2 separate regions of the Homo sapiens genome follow, and region 2 is linked to region 1. Evidence: promoter capture Hi-C in human tissues and cell types (Jung and others, 2019). All regions are on one chromosome and are shown on one strand. The core of a region is centred on a gene start or on the middle of the fragment in contact, and the rest is flanking DNA. Distances in the headings are between cores, read along the strand shown. Region 1 holds the start of CA11 (carbonic anhydrase 11). Region 2 overlaps BCAT2 (branched chain amino acid transaminase 2).

Region 1 (6,903 bases), core at 683-3,182:
TTGGGATGGGAAGAATGGGTGATCCATTTTACAGTGTAAGCAGCCTCCTCTCCACCCACTGGGTGTCCCCTCCTCCCCCAAGGCTGCTCTCCTACCTCAGCACCCCATTCCCCAGCCTCTATTCATGCCCATCCCCAGTGGGTTCAATAGCTCCTCCCTCCAAGCCCCTTACCTTCTCTCCTCCAGTGCTGAGCCTTAATGGGGGCAGAAAGGGGTCATAAAGAACCCTCTTCAGCTCCACATCCACGGGGCTCTGCCGCTTCCCCACAGCACACAGACTCCACGCTGCATTCACCAGGCCCCAGAAAGGAGGCCCTGGGGGTGGGGTCGGAGTAGGAGGACAAGGAGTCAGAAATAGAGACTGGATCCCAGGGCTGGTATCTGCTGAGTGGGCTGTGGTCTGGACTCCCAGATCCCAGGGGAGGAGGGGCTAGGGACCTAGACTCCTGGGTCTGAGGGAGGACTGGGCTCAGATCCAGAATTCTGGGTCCTAGAAGAATCTTGGAATAGTTTCCAAGTTTAGCAGAGACGGGTTTCACCAAGTTGGCCAGGCTGGTCTTGAACTCCTGACCACAGGTAATCCACCCACCTCGGCCTCCTAAAGTGCTGGGATTTCAAGCGTGAGCCACCGCGCCCAGCCGATCAAACCCATCTTAAGCCACTGTAGATGGAACTACAACTCCCAGCAGGCCCCAGTGCTACCAGCCTACCCCTCTGCTGCCTACCTGCCCCAGAGCCCCGTGGGAGTTGTAGTTCTTTTTTTTAATCGCTCTTATCCCACAGCTGGATTATTATTAATGTGTTGGGGAGAGGAGCTGCAAGAGAAGGCTGGACAAGGTGGGGGACGGGGCCACCCAGCCTCTGGTTCCTAGCAGGAGCCAGGACCTTCCTCTCCCGGCAAACACACACATAATCTCCACCCCCACACTTTCCTTCCACTCACTCCCACTCACTACTTGAAATGCGCATGTATAATGTCCCATGGTGAGCCCCTGGGGTTCAGAAGCTGGCCCGACTCCTGAGGGACAGAGGAGGGGGCTGGGACTCCTGGTCCTGGGGGGGAGGAGGGAGCTGGGAACCCAGGTTCCTGAGTCTGAAGAAGGAGGCGCCGGGAGGGCCGGACTCCTGGGTCCCCGCCTTGGCGGCACCTGGCACGAAGTTTCCCTGGAGATTATCCTTGTAGCTCCACCAGTCCTCGGGGTCAGGTGCTGGTCCGATGTGAGCTGGGAAGAGAGCAGCCTGAATCCCTCTCCTTGGCATCCCCACCTCCACCCTCCCTCGGGGGCTCCTCCCGGGAACCCCAGGTCTTACCTGCTGCCCCCAGTGCAGCCCAGAGTACCAGCGCTCGAGGGGCGCTCAGACGAGCTGCAGCCCCCATCCCCAGGAGGCCTCCGAGGGACCCCTGCCCAACGCCCTGCCCCCCTCTCTCAGCTCCTCTGTCCCCTCCTTCTGGGACCCTGTCCCTCCAGGACTTCCAGCTTTCCTCTCCTCCCCACAGGGAGTCCCAGTTCCCCAAATGCCAAAGCAGCCAGGGACTGAGATCCGCCCTTCAAACCCACTCTTCTTCTCTCTCCCGTCTCTCTGTGTCTTTCCTCTTTCCTCTGCTCTTTTCCCGGAACCCTCCAGTCTCCCTCTAGCTCCTGATCTTCCTACTCCTCTCAGCCTTCTGCTGCCCCCAGGGCTACCTCTTGGTTCCTAACCCACACCTCCTCTCCGTTCTCTTTTCATTAAGCTCTCCCAAGCCACCTAACTCCAGGTCTCCATCCCGCATCTCCTCCTCCTCCTCCCTCTCTCCTTTCCAGCTCCTGCCTCTTCTCCCCTCTCTCCTTCTTCACCTCCTCCCGCCCTCCCTCAGTGTCGGCCTCCAGCTTCGTGCTCTCCCCACCTCCTCCTCTCCTGCCTCTTCTCCCTGTTTCAGTCTCTCTTCTCTCTTGTCCCTTCCTCCCTCCTCCCCCTCCCTCTCTCCTCTCCCGTGGTGTTATTTAATTTTGTTGTTGGGCTGGGGGAGCAGGTGATCTCATAGCGGCAAACACTCCTCGGGTTGGCTTGGGGTGGGATGTGCGAAAGGGCAGGATTCGGAAGGAGGTAGGGGGCTGGTCCTCGGCTCCCAGCCGCGCTGGGGCCACGCGGGCGGGGGTGGCCGGGACACCTGGGGCCGGGAGCAGGCTGTTTCCATCCTCCGCAGCAAGGGGAAGGGGGGGCGCTTAAGGTGGAGCTGGGAGTGGCTTCGGAAGTCTCCATGCTGGGGGCCGCCGGCCTTGGCGGATGCAGGGTCCCCCTGCTCGCTGGGACCCAGGTTGGAGCCGCCCCAGCGCCCGCAGCCCCCCTTCCCCGCCCCAGGGCTCCACTGGGTCTCTGCCTGGGGCTGCCTTAACGGGGCCGGGGGATCCCCTAGGAGCCTGAAGTGCAGTGAGGGCTGCTCGCCTGGAGGGGGAGGCAGAGACCTGGCGAGGGAGAGAGGGGCGGGGAGGAGGAGCCGGGAGGGCAGAGGCGGAGAGCGGGAGGTGAGGACCCACATCTGCGTAGGCTGGGGAGGGGAAGGGAGCCTGAGATGGATACGGAGAGGAAGGGCGGAGGGACAGAAGGTTAGAGAGGCAAGAACAAACCGCCAGGCAGGAGTGAGGAGGAGGGGGAGGAGGTGAAGGAGGAGGGGGAGGAGGGAGAGGAGGGGGAGGGAGAGGAGGGGGAGGAGGGAGAGGAGGAGGGGGAGGGAGAGAGGAAGGAATGAATGAGAGAGATACAGATAGAGGCAGAAAAGGAGATACAGAGACGCAGCGAGACAGACATGGAGACATAGAGACACACACTTAGAGATAGACAGAAACTCAGAGACCAAGCAGCAGATGGGGTGGGGAGAGACAAAAAGAGAGAAAGAGCGATCCAAAGACAGAGAGAGACACCACATTTTTGTATTTGGGGAGAAGAGATGGGGTCATGCTATGTTGCTCAGGCTAGTCTCAAACTCCTGTCCTCAAGGGATCCTCCCACCTTGGCCTCCCAAAGCATTGAGATTACAGGCATGAACAACCATACCCAGCCTCAGAGAGACCACATATTACTGTTGTTGTTGTTATTTATTATTTTTCACCCCGTCTAATGGTAGTGAAACTGCTCATTGTCTTCTTTTATTTTCTTTTTTGAGACAAGCCTTGCAATGTCACCCAGGCTGGAGAGCAGTGGTGCGATCATGGCTTGATCCAGCCTCGACCTCCTGGGCTTAAACACTCCTTCCACCTCAGCCTCCCAAATAGTTGGGACTACAGGCACATGCCACCATGCCAGGCTAATTTTTAAAAATTATTTTTTGTAGAGATGTAGTCTTGCTATGATGCCCAGGCTGGTCCGGAACCCCTGGGCTCAAGGGATCCTCCTGCCTTGGCCTCCCAAAGTGCTGGGATTACAGGTGTGAGCCACCTTGTCCAGCCTGACACCAAACATTAACGAGACAGAGAGACATAGAAAGAGACACACATACATCAGTACAGGTGGAGAGAGACACAGAGAGGGAGAGACATAGAAACACACACACAGACTGAGCATGGTGGCTCACACCTGTAATCCCAGAACTCTGGGAGGTCAAGGTGGATGGATCACTTGAGGCCAGGAGACTGAGACCAGCCCGGCCAACATGGCCAAATGCCATCTCTACTAAATACATAAAAACTTAGCCAGGCATGGTGGCTCACGCCTGTAATCCCAGCACTTAGGGTGGTCGAGGTGGGTGGATCACCTGAGGTCAGGAGTTCAAGACCAGCCTGACCAAAATGGTGCAACCCCGTTTCTACTAAAAAATACAAAAACTAGCTGAGCGTGGTGGCACACACCTATAATCCCGGCTACTCAGGAGGCTGAGACAGGAGAATCGCTTGAACCGGGTAGGTGGAGGCTACAGTGAGCCGAGATCCCAACAGTGCACTCCAGCCTGGGCAACAGAGTGAGACTCCATCTCAAAAAAAAAAAAAAAAAGAAAGAAAGAAAGAAACACACACACAGAGCTAGAGACAGAGACCTGGGAACAGGCACACACACATCTATAAATAGAGACACTCGTGCAGAGAAAGAGACATCAACAGAGAGGAACAGATGGACAGAGATAGAGAGACCCAGATAGAGGGAGAGAGGACCAGAAGCAGACCAACTGACATGATGGGAGAGACTACAAAGGAATCAGAAAGACAGAGGTATTCAGAGATAGCAAATTGGGATGGACATTCAAAGACCTAGAGATGGAGAGAGACACCCAGAAAGAAACCCAGAGAGTCAGGGGTGGAGAGAGACACGAAGAAAAAACACAAGAAGGAAAGGTACATACTAATAATTTATTGCTGGCGGGGCTTGGTGGTTCATGCCTGTAATCCCAGCACTTTGGGAGGCTGAGGAGGGAGGATCACTTGAGATCAAGAGTTTGAGACCAGCCTGGGCAACATAGTAAGACCTCGTCTCTATTTTTTATGAAAAAGAAAAAAACAGGCCGGGCACAGTGGCTCACACCTGTAATCCTAGCACTTTGGGAAGCTGAAGCGGGCGGATCACGAGGTCAGGAGATTGAGACCACGGTGAAACCCCATCTCTACTAAAAATACAAAAAATTAGCCGGGCGCGGTGGCGGGCGCCTGTAGTCCCAGCTCCTCGGGAGGCTGAGGCAGGAGAATGGCGTGAACCCGGGAGGTGGAGCTTGCAGTGAGCTGAGATCACGCCACTGCACTCCAGCCTGGGCGACAGAGCGAGACTCCGTCTCAAAAAAAAAAAAAAAAAAGAAAAAAGAAAAAGAAAAAAATAGTTGGGGAACGGCAGCTCACGCCTGTAATTCCAGCACTTTGGGAGGCCGAGGAAGGCAGATCACTTGAGGTCAGGAGTTTGAGACCAGCCTGACCAACGTGGTGAAACCCCGTCTTTACCAAAAATACAAAAATTAGGCTGGGCGCAGTGGCTCACGCCTGTAATCCCAGCACTTTGGGAGGCCAAGGCGGGCGGATCACAAGGTCAGGATTTCGAGACTGGCCTCACCAGCATGGTGAAACCGTGTCTCTGCTAAAAATACAAAAATTAGCTGGGCATGGTGGCACACGCCGAGATTGCGCCACTGCACTCCAGCCTGGGCGACAGAGTGAGACTCTGTCTCAAAAAAAAAAAAAAAACAAAAACAAAAATTAGCCGGGTGTGGTGACGCATGCCTCTAGTCCCAGCTGCTCGGGAGGATGAGGCATGAGAATCACTTGAACTCAGGAAGTGGAGGTTGCAGTGAGCCGAGATCACACCAGTGCCCTCCAGCCTGGGCAAAGAGTGAGACTGTCTCAAAAACAACGACAAAACAAAACAAAACAACGACAAAAAAATCTGTTGTTGTGTGACAAATTACCCTAAAACTCAGTGGCTTAAAACAACAAACATTTATTGTGTTCACAGTTCCTGAGGGCCAGGAATGTGGGAATGGCTTCATTGGGTGGTTCTGGATCCTTCTTGAGGGTGCAGTGAAACTGTTGGACAGGGCTGCAGTCATCTCAAGTCTTTTATGACCTAGTCTCCCAAAGTCACACACCTTTTATTCCACGCATCAGAAATGAGTCACTAGATCTAGCCTACACTCAAAAGGAAAGACGTTAGGATCCTCTGCTCTTGGGCCGGGAGCGGTGGCTCACGCCTGTAATCCCAGCACTTTGGGAGGCCGAGGAAGGCAGATCACTTGAGATCAGGAGTTCAAGAGCAGCCTGGCCAACATGGTGAAACCTCGTCTCTATTAAAAATACAAAAATTGGCCGGGCGTGTTGGCTCACGCTTGTAATCCCAGCACTTTGGGAGGCTGAGGCGGGCGGATCATGAGGTCAGCAGATCGAGACCACGGTGAAACCCCGTCTCTACTAAAAATACAAAAAATTAGCCGGGCGTGGTGGTGGGCGCCTGTAGTCCTAGCTACTCTGGAGGCTGAGGCAAGAGAATGGCGTGAACCCAGGAGGCGGAGCTTGCAGTGAGCTGAGATCGCGCCACTGCACTCCAGCCTGGGTGACAGAGCAAGACTGTCTCAAAAAAAAAAAAAATACAAAAATTAGCCGAGCATGGTGGCGTGTGCCTGTAATCCCAGCTACTCAGGAGGTTGAGGCAGGAGAATCGCTTGAAGCTGGGAGGCAGAGGTTGCAGTGAGCCAATATCGAGCCATTGCATTCCAGCCTGGGCGACAGAATGAGACCCTGTCTAAAAAAAAAAAAAAAAATCCTTTGCTCTTGAAAGGAAACGTATCACAGAATTTGGGGATTAATTTTCAAACCACCACAGGTGGGGAGAGGAAGAGAGACACAGAGTTGTGGAGAGATGGACCCTTAAAGACTTGGGAGGGGCCGGGTGCAGTGGCTTATATCTGTAATTCCAGTGCTTTGGGAAGCTGAGGCAGGAGGATCACTTGAGCCCAGGAGTTTGAGACCAGCCTGGACAACACAATGAGAACCCATCTCAGCAAAAAAAAAAAAAAAAATTTTTTTTTTTTGAGACAGAGTCTAGCACCATTACCGAGACTGGAGTGCAGTGATGCAATCTCAGCTCACTGCAGCCTCTGCCTCCTGGGTTCAAGCGATTCTCCCGCCTCAGCCTCCCAAGTAGCTAGGATTACAGGAGCCTGCCACCAAGCCTGGCTAATATTTTGTATTTTTAGTAGAGACAGGGTTTCACTATGTTGGCCAGGCTGGTCTCGAACTCCTGACCTCATGATCCTTCTGCCTCGGTCTCCCAAAATGCTGGGATTACAGGTGTGAGCCACCGTGCCTGGCCTCTGCAAAAAATTTTAAAAACCTTGTCAGGCATGGCAGTGCACAGTTGTAGTCCCAGCTACTTGGGAGGCTGAGGTGAAAGGATGACTTGAGCTCAGGAGGTCGAGGCTGCAGTGAGCCAAGATCACAGCATTGTACTCCAGCC
Region 2 (6,792 bases), core at 905-3,404, 150 kb after region 1:
GTGTGTGTGTGTGTGTGTGTGTGTGTGTTGGAGTGCAGTGGCATGATCTCTGCTCACTGCAACCTCTGCCTCCTAGGTTCAAGCGATTCTCCTGCCTCAGCCTCTCAAGTAGATGGGATTACAGGCACCCTCCACCACGTCCAGCTGGTTTTTTTGTATTTTTAGTAGAGATGGGGTTTCACCATGTTGGCCAGGCTGCTCTTGAACTCCTGACTTCAGGTGATCCGCCCACCTTGGCCTCCCAAAGTGCTGGGATTACGGGCATGAGCCACAGTGCCTGGCCTTTTTTTCAAGACAGTCTTGCTCTGTCACCCAGGCTGGAGTGTAGTGGCACAATCACAGCTCACTGCAGCCTCAACCTCCCGGGCTCAGGCAATCCTCCCACCTCAGCCTCTGGAGTAGCTGGGACTATACTCACATGCCACCTCACCTGGTTAATTTTCTGTATTTTCTGTACAGATGGGATCTCACTGTGTTGCCCAGCCTGGTCTCAAGCAATCCTCCCGCCTCAGCCTCCCACAGTGCTGGAATTGCAGGTGGGAGTCACCATACCCAGTCTAAACTCTTCCACGTTTAATCCCTCCAGCAGGTGAGAGTATCGTGCCTCACTCCACACCCACTAGGGTCCCGTGACTACAGTCCTGGCTGAGGGCACTGGGCCACGTCTGGGTGTAGAAAAGACCCTTTGGGCCAGGTAGCAGACTGCAGGCTGGAACAAGGGTGCCAGTAGAAGACAGCAGCTGAGCTGAGGCCAGGGCCTAGGGGACAAAGAGGCGGGGGAACGGACAGCAGAGTCGGGGGCAGGAGGAACAGGGATCGGGGCCTCGTGGGCTTTGAGAGAAAAGGATGCAGCACCTAGGGGTCCGGCCTAGAGACTGGGAGACGGGAAAGTAGGGGAGGAGCTGGTTGGTGGGGGGCAGATAGTAAGTTCAGTGCCGGAGACATGAAATGCTCCCCCAGGTTGGAGAAACCATCAGAACACTGGGGGCTCGGATGACTGAGTCCTTCAGAATAAAATGGGCTGAGGAAGCAGGATTCCTGGGTTAAAGCCCCAGAGTCACGTCACTGAAGAAGCCCGACAATGTGTGTTCTTTGGCATTTTATTTCAAAATTGCAGCAAAGACAGAGAAAAAAAAATCAACGGCAGCACCAGGGGTCTGGCCTGAGAACGGAGAGATCCGGAATCGGGGCCAAGGTGTATCCTTGACCGCACGACAAGGAGTAATGGGCGGACCTGAACCCGCGACGAGGGGCTGGGGGCCAAGATGCCTGGGTCGGCCCTTACGGCTTTGGGAGTGTCGCAACCACATGGGGGCGCCAGAGACCCAGACGCCGCCCGCTGGCCTTTTATTTCGTATTGCACTTCAGGTGAGTCATTGGTAGGGAGGCGAGTGCTGGCGTGACGAGATGCTACGGGTCGGTGGATCTGGAGCACAGCCTGCAGCTTCACACCGGGAACATCCACTCGTGGGCTCTGATTCCGTACTGCGGAACAACGGAGGCAGTGCGTGAGGTGGAAGCTGCACTACAACTCCCAGTAGGCCCTGGGGTGTTCCAGGCCGAGTGCCTACGGAGCTGTGCCCCAGCGGCTCACGGGAAATGTAGTCCACTTCCCAGAGGGCCCCAACAATGATGGGAACGGGGAATCAAGGCTAAGGCGGCGCAGAGGCTTCCGGGAGATGTAGTTCTGAAGACAGGAATTATGGCCAGGCCTCTAAGGCTCTTGGAAAAAGTCACTTTCAGCTCAGAAAGCCCAGATAGTCAGAGGATGTGTAGTTCTAGGTCCTGATGCACAAAAGTTTACAGAAATGTAGCTCTAGGTCTGGGAAAGGAGCCCAGAGATTCTTGGGAAAGAGATCTTGGCCCAGAAGATGGGAATACCCCCAGAGATTTATGGGATTAAACAGTCTGGTGCCAGAGAGGGGCCAAGGTCCAGAGGCTCATGGGAGGAAGCTTTCTCCGGCCAAAGGGATAGCCCAGGGCTCCAGGGAATCTTGGGAGGCCAACCTCTGAGATGGCCAGAGGGCTGGCTAAGGTCTCAGTGATTCATGGAAAGGGCCTTTCTCCCACCAGGGCACCCGGGGCAGCAGAGGATCACAGGGAGGGAGTTTCTCCCACCAGGGCACCCAGGGGCCTCAGAGGCCCACGGAGAGGGGGTTTCTCCTACCAGGGCACCCAGGAGCCGCAGAGGATCACAGGAAGGGGTTTCCAAAGCTGAAGACATATCCAGGGCTCCGGGAGCTCCCAGGAAAGGGTGATTTAGCCCCAAGGGGTTTTCCAGGCCACAGAGCAGCACAGAAAGCCCACTCTCCAGGGCCTCAATAAGAAAGGCCATTATCTGTTCCTGGTACTACTGAAGGAGGCTGGCTGTTAGTCCAGGGGCTCATGGGACACCAACTTCTCCAGGGAACAAGCTCCCAGCCCATTCCCCAGCTCCCTGCAGCTCACCTGGATCTCCTTCAGCTCCTTCTGGAAGCGGAGGATCAGCTCAGGCCCATTTTCCATGGTGGGAATGTGGAGGTTCTGGGACAGAAGGTGCGGTGAGGACCAAGCCCCTCCCCTCCTTCCCTCCCACCCACAATGGCAGCCCCGCCTCACCCTGTCTTTGTACAGGATTCGGTGCACTGGGCAGACCTGGCAAGCGGTGCCCGAGCCAAAGACTTCCCGCACGCGGCCCTCCTCCAGGGCCCGCAGCAACTGCTTCATGGTGATCGTGCGCTCCACCACCCGGAACTCACCCTGCAGGGCAGTTGGCAGAGACACGTGTCCCCAGAGGGTTGCCCTGCTGCAGACCTCCACCTCTCCCTCCCTGAGGATAGTGAGAAAGACAGAGGCCCAACGGGAGAGACAGACCCAGGAGAAGGGGCAGAGACATGCCAGTGTGCCCCAGTCCCAGCCCTCTGATGCCCTGGCCCCTGGCACATGGCGCCCATCACCAGAAGATGCCATGTCCTCACCCAGGTCTGAGCCATGTCCAGTAGACTCTGTCTGACCACTCCAGGCAGGATAACACCATTCAGCGGGGGCGTCACCAGCTCCAGCACTAGGGCAGGTGTAAGGGGTGGAAGATGTTACCTCTCACCCCCTAGCACCGCCGTCTTAAGAGCCACCCCCTTCCCCCATCCCAGAATCCCTGGGGCCTGTAACCTGCCAGGAATGATGGTGCCACCCACTTCCACCAGGGTTCGGGCTGGGTCATGGGTGGGCTTACCCCCATCTTCGTGGGTCCAGTAGACAAAGATGTTCATGGTTCCCACCTCGGTGAGCTGGTGGTCGGGCCCATACAGCCAGAGGACCTGTTCACAGCCCCGCTTGAGTGCCTCCTGTTGCACTAACACGGTGGGCCCATAATTCCTGGTGGAGGGCAGTCTGGTTGGGTGGGGCAAGGGAGCCCCATCCTTCCCCAGCCCAGCCCCAGAGGAGGCTCATCCTACTCTCTCCCGTCTCCCTGCTCACAGCTCTCACAGGGCTCCCCAGTTCCCCTGAGATGGAATCCTTGACTTTTCATTTGGCATCAGGACCCTAAATGGTTATGTCCCCTCTCTCCTGTCTCTTCCCACTTTTCTTTCTTTTCTTTTCTTTTTTTTTTAAGACGGAGTCTCGCTCTGTCACCCAGGCTGGAGTGCAGTGGTGCGATCTTGGCTCACTGCAACCTCCGCCTCCCAGGTTCAAGAGATTCTCCTGCCTCAGCCTCTCTTGACCTGGTGATCTGCCCGCCTCAGCCTCCCAAAGTGCTGGGATTACAGGCGTGAGCCACCGCGCCCAGCCCTCACCCATTTCATACTGACCAAATCCTCAGCTGTCATTCAAAACCATTTCTTTTTTTCTTTTTTTCTTTTTTTTTTTTTTGAGACAGAGTCTTGCTCTGTCGCCCAGGCTGAGGCTAGAGTGCAGTGGTGCGATCTCAGCTCACTGCAACCTCCGCCTCTCGGGTCCAAGCGATTCTCGTGCCTCAGCCTCCTGAGTAACTGGAGTAACTGGGGCATGCAGCACCATGTCCGGCTAATTTATATTCACATTTATATTTATATGCCCGCCTCAGCCCCCCAAAGTGCTGGGATTACAAGAGTGAGCCACAGCGCCCGGCCTTACTTTTTATATTTTTAGTAGAGACGGGGTTTCACCATGTTGGCCAGGCTGGTCTCAAACTCCTGACCTCAAGTGATCCGCCTACCTCGGCCTCCCAAAGTGCTGGGATTACAAGCGTGAGCTACCGCGCCTGGCTCCAAAACCGTTTCTGTTGTCACCTCCTCGAGAGGTGTTTCCAGACCTCCAGGCTGGGTGCTGGACCTTCCCTGGACTCCCCCAGTGAACTGGGCTACCTGGATGACTTTCTGAGTCTCTCTCCCAGAGATAGCCTCTCCCCTCAGCTGCTAACAAGCCTCCCATGGCTCCCCAGTGCCCCAGGACAAGACCCTAGCCTCCTTCCGGCATTCCAGGCCTGCCTGGGTCTAATGAATACTTGCTAAGCATTTTTCAAAACCCAAACTTATTTTTGTAACCTGAACATCTTCTGTGATCCTATTCCTTCTGTCCCTGTACACATGGTTCCCAGGACTGGAAACAGTTTGCTGACTTTTGTACCCAGGAAACCCCCTCCTCCCTCCTCGTCAGACCTAGTTGAAGGGTCGCCTCCTCTGCGAAACCTTTCTTTTTTTTTTTTGAGATGGAGTTTCGCTCTGTCGCCCAGGCTGGAGTGCAGTGGCGCGATCTCGGCTCACTGCAAGCTCTGTCTCCTGGGTTCTCGCCATTGTCCTGCCTCAGCCTCCTGAGTAGCTGCGACTACAGGCGCCCGCCACCAAGCCCGGCTAATTTTTTTTTTTTTTTTTTGTATTTTTAGTAGAGATGGGGTTTCACTGTGTTAATCAGGATGGTCTCGATCTCCTGACCTCGTGATCTGCCCGCCTCAGCCTCCCAAAGTGCTGGGATTACAGGCGTGAGCCACCGCCTCTGGCCTCTGTGAAGGCTTTCACAATGCCCTGGGTCACCTCACCAGAGAACATGCAGCTCCGAATACTGGGGCTCCCACCAGCCTGGGAGACCCAGGAGAGCAGGGCTCGGGGCTGACTCATCTGTGTCCCCAGCTTCTGCCAGCACAGGGCCTGGCCCTCAGGAGACCTCACAGGATGTGGCTGAAAGGACCTGAATGCACCCCCAGCTGGGGCCACATTCCTGTCCCAACACGCCAGTGCCCACCCTCTGCCTTGGTTGCCCAGGAGACCCAGCTGTCTCCTTCCTGCCCTGCTGAGCTGAGGCCACTGGGAGACAGATTTACACAGAAAGTCCACACGGGGGTGAGGGGCTTTGGAGGCTCAAACGACTGTGGGAGCTGGGTATGGGGAGCGCAGCCCAGCCTGGGGGATCAGGGGAGGCTTCTGGGGCGAGAAGCCAATGAGCTGAGTGTAAGCTTCACTCCTGGAGGCTTCCAGGGACCAGTCCTGGTTTCCCCACTGACCTCCACCCAATGCCTTCCCATCTGTGAGCCTTTTTGTCCATCTGAAAAATAATCCCCTCCTCCTTCCTTCCATGGTTTGTTTTCAGGGACCAGGGAGGTCACTTAGCACTGAGCCCTGCACGGTGCTGATGATGTCACCTTCATGTGACATCCAGAGGCATGGCCGAAAGCACGCACGCTGGTCCCTGTGTCTCCAACGCCCAGTGCGCCAGTCGTTCTGGGGATGGGGGTGCTACTTACCCACCTAACTTGTAGTTGCCGACCCCGCCCACCCAGGCCCGGATGAAGGCTGGGTCGGCCAGGAGGGAGACCGGGGTCACGGAGCCTCCAGGGAAGTAGGCACCCACTGGGCAGAGAATGACGAACAGGAGCGCGCGCGTGGGCTGGCTGACACCCAGCGAGGGCTGCGACGGGCAAAGGGACAGCGTCAGGAGTCCAGGCCCCCAGTCCCTTCCCGTCCCCAGGCCCAGGCCTCCAGGACCCCACCCCTGCCCTGCAGAATCCAACCCCCGCAGCCCAGCTTCCCAGCCCTGGAGTTGGGCCCACCTCGTTCCCAATGAGCACAGGCCGCACATAGAGGCTGGTGCCGGCGGCATCGGGGACCCAGTCCTTGTCCACTTCGATGAGCCGGCGGATGCACTCCAGCAACTCCAGCTTGTCGAAACTCTGGGTGGGATTCTGAATGAGTCAAGGGGCCCTTGCTGCCCCGGCCCCAGCCCTCCTCCCCACCCCGGTGGACCGGGACCCCTCACCGGCAGGCACAGGCGCATGGCTGAGCGCAGCATCCGGTCCATGTTGAGCCAGGGGCGGAAGAGGCGCACCTGCTGGTCTTTGCCTTTGAACGCCTTCATGCCCTCAAACAGCTGCGGGGACACGCGGGTGGGGAGGCTCAGAGACTTCTCCAGACAGTCATGAGAGACACCAAGACAGACAGAGACAGATACACAAAGACACAGACAACTGAAAGATGGAGGCCAAGAGGAGAGCACCGGGGAGATTTAGCAGCTGGGTCAGAGAGATGGAGAAAAAGAGAGACAGATATAGACAGGGAGACAAACAGGTAGAGACACACGGAGACTCTAGAAAGCAAAGGACACGACCGGGCTCAGTGGCTCACTGTAATCCCAGCACTTTGGGAGGCCGAGGCAGGAGGATCACTTGAGTGTAGGAGTTCGTGACCAGCCCAGGCATTATAGCAAGACCCCATCTCTACCAAAAAATACGAAAATTAGCCAGACGTGGTAGCACGTGACTGGAGTCCCAGGTATTTGGAAGGTGGTGGGAGGATCACTTGAGCCTGGGAGTTTGAGACTGCAGTGAGCCACGATCATGCCACT

The links. The method cuts DNA at HindIII sites, captures the fragments that hold promoters and counts their contacts. A contact is called where the count stands out against the background at its distance.
Region 2: a fragment that was not itself captured here is called in contact with the fragment with the promoter of CA11 in region 1 in 1 of the 25 tissues and cell types used here (adrenal gland).

The regions. Positions count from the first base shown.
Region 1 is chr19:48,644,255-48,651,157 of GRCh38, forward strand. CA11 (carbonic anhydrase 11) reads right to left here and starts at 1,933. Exons shown (of 9, transcript NM_001217.5): 1 at 1,312-1,933; 2 at 1,149-1,223; 3 at 173-315. The coding sequence starts at 1,378. It also overlaps the pseudogene SEC1P. RefSeq lists enhancers at 1-562, 563-1,263, 1,264-1,964 and silencers at 1,922-2,111, 2,142-2,551. The HindIII fragment of the contact is 19,792 bases long and covers 1-6,903 here.
Region 2 is chr19:48,793,980-48,800,771 of GRCh38, forward strand. It overlaps BCAT2 (branched chain amino acid transaminase 2), which reads right to left. Exons shown (of 11, transcript NM_001190.4): 4 at 6,208-6,318; 5 at 6,002-6,121; 6 at 5,696-5,859; 7 at 3,212-3,354; 8 at 2,958-3,043; 9 at 2,599-2,739; 10 at 2,449-2,523; 11 at 1,085-1,485. The coding sequence ends at 1,447. Among named protein-coding and RNA genes, the nearest start is that of BCAT2, 14 kb to the right of the region's middle. RefSeq lists enhancers at 1-21, 1,254-1,323, 1,364-1,543, 2,141-2,776, 4,589-5,197 and 1 more. The HindIII fragment of the contact is 3,051 bases long and covers 630-3,680 here.